Regions from separate parts of the Homo sapiens genome. Here all the other regions are linked to region 1. The links are contacts of gene promoters, found by promoter capture Hi-C in blood cells and fetal thymus (Javierre and others, 2016). All regions are on one chromosome and are shown on one strand. The core of a region is centred on a gene start or on the middle of the fragment in contact, and the rest is flanking DNA. Distances in the headings are between cores, read along the strand shown. Region 1 holds the start of FMNL3 (formin like 3). Region 2 overlaps TUBA1C (tubulin alpha 1c). Region 3 has its middle 4.6 kb from the start of DNAJC22.

What was found. The method cuts DNA at HindIII sites, captures the fragments that hold promoters and counts their contacts. A CHiCAGO score of 5 or more calls a contact.
Region 2: a contact is called between a fragment that was not itself captured here and the fragment with the promoter of FMNL3 in region 1, in 1 of 17 cell types (endothelial precursors). The highest score is 6.9, in endothelial precursors.
Region 3: a fragment that was not itself captured here is called in contact with the fragment with the promoter of FMNL3 in region 1 in 2 of 17 cell types (neutrophils and endothelial precursors); the score reaches 5.4 in neutrophils.

What each region holds. Positions count from the first base shown.
Region 1 is chr12:49,705,776-49,708,946 of GRCh38, forward strand. FMNL3 (formin like 3) reads right to left here and starts at 1,630. Exons shown (of 26, transcript NM_175736.5): 1 at 1,280-1,630. The coding sequence starts at 1,405. LOC124902929 (a long non-coding RNA gene) reads left to right here and starts at 1,951. Exons shown (of 3, transcript XR_007063299.1): 1 at 1,951-2,064. RefSeq lists a silencer at 1,274-2,043 and an enhancer at 2,064-2,213. The HindIII fragment of the contact is 3,771 bases long and covers 1-2,262 here.
Region 2 is chr12:49,266,438-49,269,608 of GRCh38, forward strand. TUBA1C (tubulin alpha 1c) reads left to right here. Exons shown (of 4, transcript NM_032704.5): 2 at 3,028-3,171. Among named protein-coding and RNA genes, the nearest start is that of TUBA1C, 2.9 kb to the left of the region's middle. The HindIII fragment of the contact is 1,629 bases long and covers 725-2,353 here.
Region 3 is chr12:49,340,735-49,343,905 of GRCh38, forward strand. No RefSeq gene overlaps it. Among named protein-coding and RNA genes, the nearest start is that of DNAJC22, 4.6 kb to the right of the region's middle. RefSeq lists a silencer at 1,495-1,634 and an enhancer at 1,836-2,347. The HindIII fragment of the contact is 8,852 bases long and covers 1-3,171 here.

The DNA of each region.
Region 1 (3,171 bases), core at 380-2,879:
AGGTGCCAGCGACACCACTTCCCCTTGGAACACTGTGGACCCTCTTTGAGCCAGCTCTGGTGCCAGTGGGCTGATGTCAGATTCTCTACCATCGGAGAGGCCAAGATCTCTAGACAGCTCCACTGTTGCCAACAGATCTAATCTCCTTATTCCAAGGCAGATGAAATCCAATAAGGCTGCTAAGTCCACAACTTATCCCTCCTGATGGGCAGAGGCAAAGGCAGAGTCGGCCATACCAACAATAACGCCAGAATTATTACTGCTTCTTAGAAAACTCTTTGGGGAAGTGAGAACTATTTCCCCAAATTTCTCAAAGATTAACCCCGGTTTACCAATGTTTTCGCTCTGCAAAACTTCATTTTCAGCGCAAACATATTTTCTGGCTCCTTCCCGGTGATACCAGCTCAGAACCTCTCGCTTCATAGAGCCACTGACATCAATGTCCAATTCCCACACCAAAGAAGAATCCCAAAGTCAGCTCTAAAAACCCATTTATACAGACCGTTTGAAACCCACAGAAAGACTAAAAAGCACAGGCTAAACAACACAAACCAGTCACTATGGCTTAACGTGAAAAGGGGGGGAGGAGGCGGGATGGTTTGTGTATTGTTTCACTTGGAGAAATACCCCAGTGAAATGGTTTATCCACATGTTCAGCCTTTCAGGCAAATCCACTCTAACTTAGCAGGATGCCTGCAGGCCGTTCTGAAAATAAGCAGAATGGCATACTCTTTATTCCACCCCCTTCAGGAGCTGCCAGCCGCCTCCCCATCCCCCTCTCCCCCCAAACATCTGGTCTGGGCTGGGAGTGGGACCCACTCCCTGGGAAGCCTCCATGTTCGCAGGAGAGGCGGTGTCCCCACTCAGGGAAGCCTGCTGAGGAGCGAGCCGGCCGCGCTTCTGAATTCCCCCCACCCGCGAGAGGCTCCGGGCTGAGAATGCTAGGGACGGGGAGCCTGGCGAAGAAGCGGGGAAACGGGAAAAGGGCAGCAGAAGGGGGAGGAAGAAGGAGGGAGAAGCCTGGTTCCTAGGACGGTCCCGAACTGGGGACTTCTCCTAAGGGTCCAGCGGTGGAGGCGTCGGTCCCGAGATCCCCGACGGGGCTGTCCGGGCCGGCCAGCGGCTGCTCAGAGGTTCCTGGGAAGACACTGGAGGCCGGGATCCGTTCGGGACCCCGACTGAAAGGGTGGGCGGGACGGGGGCCCAGCACAAAGTCCCAGCCCGGGCGTCGGGACCTGAGGGGCGGTACGCGGGGGAAGGGGCTGGGCTCAGCTCTCACCAGCACCAGGGCGAACCTTTCCTCCAGCTCACAGGGCTCAGGCATCGGCATCTTGCCGGGCGGCAGCAACAACGGGACAGAGGGGGGCTCTCCCGGGACCCCCTCGGCGCTCTCCAGGTTGCCCATCGCGGCGGGGCCCCCTCAGGGGCCTCGGCCCCCCACCTCCACGCTCCGGAGCTTTCGGCTCCGCGGCTCCGACCAGGCTCCTCCCTCAGCGCCGGCTCCCCGAGTCCCGACTCCTCGGCCCCGTCGAGGGCGCCGGGGGTTCCCTGGAGTCCCGCTGGCGGGGGCGCGCGGCGAGGGCGGAGGCAGCGTAGCGGACAGCCGCACCGAAGCAAGGCGGACGGAGGCGGCCGGCTCTTGCTCACACCCGCCGCCTCGCCGCGCTCGGCGCGCCGCCCGGGCGCTGCCCCTCCCCGCCCCCCGCGCTCTTTCCCTTCCCCCGCCAACCTCGCTTCCTCCCACCCACACCCGGCCGAGACTCGGGCTTCCCCCGCGAGCGCCGACTGCAGCCCGCGCGACGCGCGCCCCATTCATGCAGGCCCCGCCTCCCGCCCAGAGGCCTCACAGGCGGCCCGGCCCGCCCCACCTGCGCCCGATTGACGGCCGCGTCTGCCAATCACAGCGCCTCCCGCCCTTGACGGCCTCGTGCCGGGCGCCGAGCGCTCCCTGGCGGCCTCAGCCGGCATCGAATCACCGCGGTTCCCAGAGGGCGTGAGGGGCTGGCGTGGACACACCGGGAATGGACCGTACCCTTTTTCAAAAGGAACTCATGATGTATACAAGTAAGTAAAATATTATACAAGGCATGGCGTACAAAACTAACTACAAGAGAAGTAGAAACAAGCAGGATACTCAGAAGAGGGAGAGAGATAGTACCTGTTAAGAGTCGGGGTGAGGGAGATCATAGTTGGACCAGGCATTGAGGGATGAGGAAGCCCTTACCCGACAGAGGCAGGGGAAAAAACGTTTGGGAGGAGAGAAGCTTAACCATCTGGCTGCGTGTGAAAATGGAGAGGCGGGAGAAGAACGCTGTTCTGGGCTCAGTCGGCGGCTGGGTCGTTGACATTTGCGGTGGAAATTTGTTGTCTAGCCGCCATCTTCTTCCAGTGAGAGCACCCCCTTTTCTTTTAGGAAACCACCTCTCCCCTCTTCTCAGTCTAAATGGAGCTGAATTTTATCCCCAGTTCCAAAGGACCGCATGACCCAGGCCCAGTCAGTCACAACATTTTCCTCCTCTACCCATGGACACTGTTTTAGGGATTGTCACTTGACCCAAGCCCAGACAATATGATATATCCAAGGCTTTCTCTGAAACAATCAGGAAAGAGGCACTCACTCTCTCTCCATTTAGGCTGCAAAATTATTAGAATGTAAACCTGCAGCCGCTGGTGGCCGTCTTATCATCACCTGTAACACATCAAGCCTGCTTGAGAATGAAGCCAGCGCAGAGGAGAGAAAAGCTATGAGACAGGACAAAATTCTAATGACATGCCAAGAACCTGGATCTAACCATGCCTGAAGTTATCACCTAGATTTTTAATTCATTTATTCAACAAATATTTATTTTAGAAAGTTTATTCTATGCCAGATACTATTCTGGGCATTGAAGGTACATCTGCGAACAAACAGGATATACATTGTGTCCTCTTGGAATTCACAATCTGTGTAGAAGGAAAGGTAGACAATAAACTAGACGAGTAAAATGTATAGATGTTAGTGATCAGTGTTAATAAAAATAAAACTGAAAGGTGATAGAGATGGAAGAGGCATTAAGATTTTAAATAGAGTTGCTTACTTGGGAGGCTGAGGCAGGAGGATCAATTGAAACTAGGAGGTTGAGGCTGTAGTGAGCCATGTTCATGGCACTCCACTCTAGCCTGGGTGACAGG
Region 2 (3,171 bases), core at 289-2,788, 440 kb before region 1:
AAAAAACCCGCAAACCCCAGAGTAAACTAGTACCACGTGTTCTTAGTTCAGTTTTCAAGAAACGTGAAATTATACGTAACTTGAGTGTTTTCTATAAAGCTTCCAGAAGTATTGAAAACAACTATCTTAGGCCGGGCGCGATGGCTTATGGTTGTAATCCCAGCACTTTGGGAGTCCGAGGCGGGAGGACCGCTTGAGCTCAGGAGGTCGAGACCAGCCTGGGCAACACGGTGAAACTCCGTCTATACTAAAAATACAAAAATTATCTGGGCGTCGTGGTGCGTGCCTGTAGTCCCAGCTTCTCGGGAGGCAGGGGTGGGAGGATCTTTTGATCCCGGGAGGTGGAAGCTGCAGTGAGCCCAGATCGCACCACTGCACTCCAGCGAGACCTTATCTCAAAAATACGTACATGAATTTAAATATAAAAATCAAATGTAAATACATGTATATGTCGCACTGTAACAACTTATTGCTTCTTTTCAAGCAGTACCAAAAAGATACTGGTAAAAGTGGGATTCACAAAGTAGTGAGACCCTTTAAAAAGCAGGAGAGCGGCAGCGGACTGGTTTAGGTGAACACTGGTTAAATTTTCTTGTTTTTTAACGAGAGGTAAGAGCTGCTTATCCAGTTAACACTAGACCAATTGACTCCACCTGTGCCTCACTTTCTCCCACGTGGCCAGGGGAGAGTGGAGGGTAAGTCAGTGGCCGCTGACTGCCTGCTAAGCTTCAAGAAGGCAGTTTAGACTGAGCAATGAAAGAAAAATTGCGGGCGCAAAATAGAAACGGCATTTAAACAGAAGAAGCATTTGTTAGAATGAGTGGATCTTCTCAGATACTTTATCTCCTTGGGCCTGGGGGCCATCATGATCAGGTATCTGGTTATCTCCAGCTTTTTGGGGCTTGGGCGTTTCCAAAGTCCAGTTAAAGGTAAACATGATGCCGGGCGTGGTGGCTCCCGCCTATAATCCCAGCACTTTGGGAGGCCGAGGTGAGTAGATCACCCGAGGTCAGGAGTTCAAGACCAGCCTGGCCAACATGGTGAAACCCCATCTCTACTAAAAATACGAAAATAAGGCAGGCATGGTGGTGGGCACCTGTAATCCCAGCTACTTGGGAGGCTGAGGCAGGAAAATCGCTTGAACCTGGAAGGCGGAGTTTCCACTGCACTCCAGCCTGGGCGACAGAGCGAGACTTTTTCTCAAAAAGGTAAACATGATGCAATGGTAAATAGTCATGGGCTAATTAGAACAAACTACTCCTGTTCTCCCACACCCCTGGAGCTGGGTGAGTAGACCCAGGTGATACTGAGCTTGCTGATGTGGTTAAGAGACCTTGATTGTTTCATGGGGAGTGTAGGTGGGAAGGAGGTCAAAGGTTGTGAGTAATTAGGGTTTTTATTATCTCTTGGCTTATGAGACCAGGTCCTTTGAGAACTTAGTGCTCTGCCAGTCTCCAAAGTGGCTAATCTGACTTATGATGAAATGCCAAACACCCTTTTTGTTTTCCTGTTAAGTCTGTGTGTACAGATTCTATGTTTATTCCCTTATTTTACTTAGCAGGTGTGGGTTTGGTAATTTCTAACCATATTCTGCTTTGGCCCCTCTGGCCTTTCTAAATTAACTTGGTCCACCTCATAAATATATATCTATGAGAGAGAGACACACACACACAGACACAGACACAGAGTCTTGCCTCTGTTGCCCAGGCTGGAGTGCAGTGGCGAGATCTCTGCAACCGCCACCTCCTGGGTTTGGGTTCAAGTGATTCTCATGCCTCAGTCTTCCGAGTAGCTGGGACTACAGGCGCGCACCACCATGCCTGGCTAATTCTTGTATTTTTAGTAGAGATGGGGTTTCAGCATATTGGCCAGGCTGTTCTTGAACTCCTGACCTCAGATGATCCACCCACCTCGGTCTCCCAAAGTCCTGGGATTACAGGCATGAGCCACTGTGCTCTACCATAATTTTTTTTTTTTTTGTATTTTTAATAGAGACAGTTTCACCATGTTGGCCAGGCTGATTTCAAACTCCTGACCTCAAGTGATCTGCTCACCTTGGCCTCCCAAAGTGCTGGGATTACAGGTGTGAGCCAGAAACAACTAATTTCTTAACCTATCAGTAAAGTCTTGGTAACATTTCTAGCCTTTATTATTATGGTCTTCCCTCTTCCGGAGATGTTTTGACGGTGAAGGAAAAACGTTCTTCCTATAGATTAGATTCTTCCACTTGGTTAAAAAGCTGCCTCTGACCACAGTTTTTAAAATACAGCTAACTGCTGCTTATCCAGCATTTTCTTCATGAGTCATGGCTATAGTTTGCTGGTTTAAGCTGGTTTTAAAGGAGGGAGAGAGAAGCTTTTGTCTCCTAAAGAATAGGATTAAAGCGGGACCAGAATGAGCTCAGTAGTTACACAATCATTCAGAGAATGAATCAGAGCTGGAAAGGGGAATTTTGCCTTAGTTTAAGGAATCATATCTACTGTGGCTACAAAGCAACTGTCTGGTCTTGCCGAGTAGTTCATGAACACATCTTTGGTTTTCCAAGGCACTTTTGCTGAATTAGGTCTTCAAAGATTTTTGCTTTTGAAATTATAGTCCCTGAGCAGGAGTGGCCTGCTGAAAGATGGTTATCTTTTTTTGTTTGAGATGGAATATCTTGTCACTCAGGCTGGAGGGCAGTGGTGTGATCTCAGCTCACTGCAACCTCCACCTCCTGAGTTCAAGTGATTCTCCTCCCTCAGCCTCCCAAGTAGCTGGGACTACAGGTGTGCGCCATCATGCCTGGCTAATTTTTTTTGTATTTTTAGTAGAGATGCAGTTTTGCCATGTTGGCCAAGCAGATCTCAAACTCCTGACCTCAGGTGATCCACCTGCCTCAGCCTCCCAAAGTACTGGGATTACAGGTGTGAGTCACTGCGCCCAGCCAGTTATCTGTCTTGAAGGTTAATCAGTCATTAGGTGTGAATCATTCCTAAATGTCCCATCTGATGTATTATACCCTGACATTTTCCTTTCTTCCTCCCACAGCGTGAGTGCATCTCCATCCACGTTGGCCAGGCTGGTGTCCAGATTGGCAATGCCTGCTGGGAGCTCTACTGCCTGGAACACGGCATCCAGCCCGATGGCCAGATGCCAAGTGACAAGACCATTGGGGGAGGAGATGATTCCTTC
Region 3 (3,171 bases), core at 352-2,851, 370 kb before region 1:
GGACAGGGGACGGCATGGAAAGGGAAACAACATTATTGAGTCCTTATTGTATTTTAGGGCTTTAACATGCAACTTCTCGTTGCATCCTCACAGCACCCTTTAGAGTTAGATCTATTGTCCCCATTTTAAAGATAAAAAAACTGGGGCCCAGAAAGGGGAAATGGCTTGTCCATTATCACCCTGTAAGGGATAGTCCTGGAATTAGAGTTATGACCTCCTGGCTTCCTTCTCAGTTCCCTAGAGGAGACAAATGGCACCCAAGGCAGTGGAAGAGTGAGAGAGGCAGGCCAGGAGTGGGCAGTGAGATTTGAATGGCTTCCGGGAGCCTTTTGTATGTGAGGCCAAAAGGGTTGGGTCTTGGCTCCGTGTATCCCCCAACCCCCACCCTGACACTGTTAAGCATGATGCCCAACAGGTGCTCAACTGTTGGCTAAAGGATGGCCAAAGTTAGTTTCAGAGAACAACCGTCCAGATGGAGGAAGAGAGGGCAGAGAAAAAGGAAGGCAAAGGAAAACGAAGCGAGTCAAGGAAAATTTGCTTAAGGGACAAAAGGGAAGCCTGAAGCCGGCTGTTCTCCGACTGCAGCTGGGAAAACCGTCCCAGCCCAAGAACCTGCTCATGGTTTGCCTCCTTGCAGAGACTACCCTCCTGCCTCTGCCATCACGGCCAGGCCCAGGGCTCCCACTCATCAGCCAGTGCCTCTGGCACCAAAACTCAGTGCAACCTTAAGTTCAAAGTATCGCACCAGGGTCCACAGGGCTGAAGACAAGCTCCTGGCTTCTCAGAGAGTGGGTAAAGACTGCTTCCAAGGTGTCTGCCAGGTCAGAGCTGTTGCTGACTTACTTCGGCAGCCCTCCACCCCTGGCCAGGTGCTGCTCCTAGCCTTTGACTCCTCCACCTCCCTTTGTGCCCCCCTCTGCCTCCACCGCTTGCCAGCTCCAGCCTCCAGTTAATGAAATGTGGGGATCGGCTGCACAGAGAGCTGTCAGACCCCTCATTTCTCCTCTGGGATATTGACTCCGGGTCTGGGAGACCCACAGGTGAAAGGAGGCGGGTGGGGTGCGGGAAGTTGAGGTAGGGGCGCATACTGATGAGAGCCCCGAGACCAGGAGGTAGTGCTAAGCTCCAAGTCTCGAGGGCTCGGCTAAGCGAGGAAGGCCCTAGGATGCTCTTTCTGCTTGGGGTCCCCAGCTTTTCTCTGACGAGCAGGACACTTAACGAGCCCCAACCCACCGCACCCGGACCTGGACCCCGAACTAGCACCCCAGGCGGGCTGGACTTCAGTGAGCGCCGCGCGCAGCGCCTCGGAGCCAGAGACCGCTGCCCGGTGCTTCCTCCCATCTTCTTCCATCCCTTCCCTCTTGCTCCCCCTCCCTCCTGCACTCCCTCCCCGGCGGCCGCGGCCTTTATTAGGGATTCCGCGGCTGTCGGTCCCGCCATCCATCCTGTCCGCCGGCAATTAGGCGGCCAGACAAAGAGCAGCTTCGGATGGATGAGGGTCCCAGCGGATCGGAAATGTGAAGGGTCAGCGCTGCCGCCCGCGGCGCACCCCGCTCCCCCTTCCGCATAATCACCGGCCGCCCGTCACTCAGCCGGCCGCCCAGGGAGCTCCTGGGCCCGGCCCGGGAGAGGGCGGGGTGCGGCTGCAGCCTAGGCGCCCAGGACAGGGCGAGGGCGGACCTGCGGCAGGAGCGCCTCCTGCGGGGCAGTGGAGGACTGTGGCCTGAGGCATTGGCCGAAGGGTGGGGGATTATGGCCCCGGGCACTCCCCGAAGGGAAACTGGGGCTAGCGGCTTGGGGCCTCCCAGTGGGGAAGAGGGAACAAAAGCTGCGGAGACCGGAGGCCCGGGGTCCAGGGCGCCCCCTGCTGGGAAGCTGGGAACCAAGCCTTAGAGGTCCGGCAGGTACAGATGGAACCAGGCCCAGGGCGACCCCTCCTAGGGAAACCAAGGGTTTCTAGCCTGGCGCGCCTCCTGCCGGCTTTGAATGACACTGCGCTTCTATGCCCGCTCCGTTCAGTGAAATCCAACCAATCCGCATCCGCTCAAAAAAGGCTCCAAGTCCTGGCGAACCCGAGGGGAGCCGAGAGGGAGTTCAAGGAGTCCAGGTTTTACTGCAGATTCTTTGGCGCTAGCTCCCAGCTGACAAATCAACATCTCAATCTGACAATTAGTGGTCAAGATGCGGGGTGAGGGGCTCTTACAGCCCCGGCCGCTTAGCCCTCCCGGCGGGAGGCAGAGGGGTGGGCGGTGCTGGCAGTGATGAACGACTCCAGGGGGGCCCGTGGCCCCGAGCGCGCATTCATTACTCGACTGACAGGCGGGTGGCGGGCCGGGCGGGCTGCGAGTGGACGTGCCGGGAAAGAGGCCAGTAGCAGGAGGGGACTAAGGCAAGCGTTTAACAGTCCCACTGCTCCATCTGCTCCCGGTCCTTCGCCTTGACCCTGGGACTTGACTTCCTTGAGCTCGGCCTCCCAGTTGTTGGAGCTGGCCCTGGCTGGGAAGCAAGGGCGGGGACCTAAGCCCTCTTCTGGGGTTAGGTGATTTAAGGTCTGAGATGTCAAGGAAGGGTATTAGGCAGGTCTCAAGACTAGGCGATTCGGCCTGACCTCTGAGAGATTGTGCGTGACTGTGCACTCAGAGATGGCGTGTATGACAGGGATTGATGAATGTGGATCGCACGTGGGAGGTCAGTGACTGTGTGTGTCAGTACCAGGTATGTGTCAGTATGATTTTGTCAGTGGAGGTGTGAGATTCCCTCTGAGGATGAGCCACCACCCCTCCCTGTGTGTCCGTCTCCCCACTACCCCCCAGCTGGCTGTCAGCTCTGTCTCCAGTTATGGAGGAAATGGCAGTGCGCACGGTGACAGCTGAGGTGTGCTGCTGGGGTGGGGGGTGGGGGTGGTGCTAGATGTTAACTGTGAGAGTGCTGGTCAGGACAGCTGCTCCCTTCCAGCACCTTCACCACTAACATCCCTACCCCAAGGGTTTTGAAAGTAGTGGATTTTTTTTTTTTTTTTTTTTTTTTTTTTTTTTTTTTTTTTTTTTGGCCAAAGTTTGGACACCTAGTTGCTGTGCCCTGGGGAACAAAGTGATTACTGCCAGAGTTGTCTAGCCCATACCCCTACACATACACATACACAAGGTCTCCAAATGTGAGATGTGATCTCCA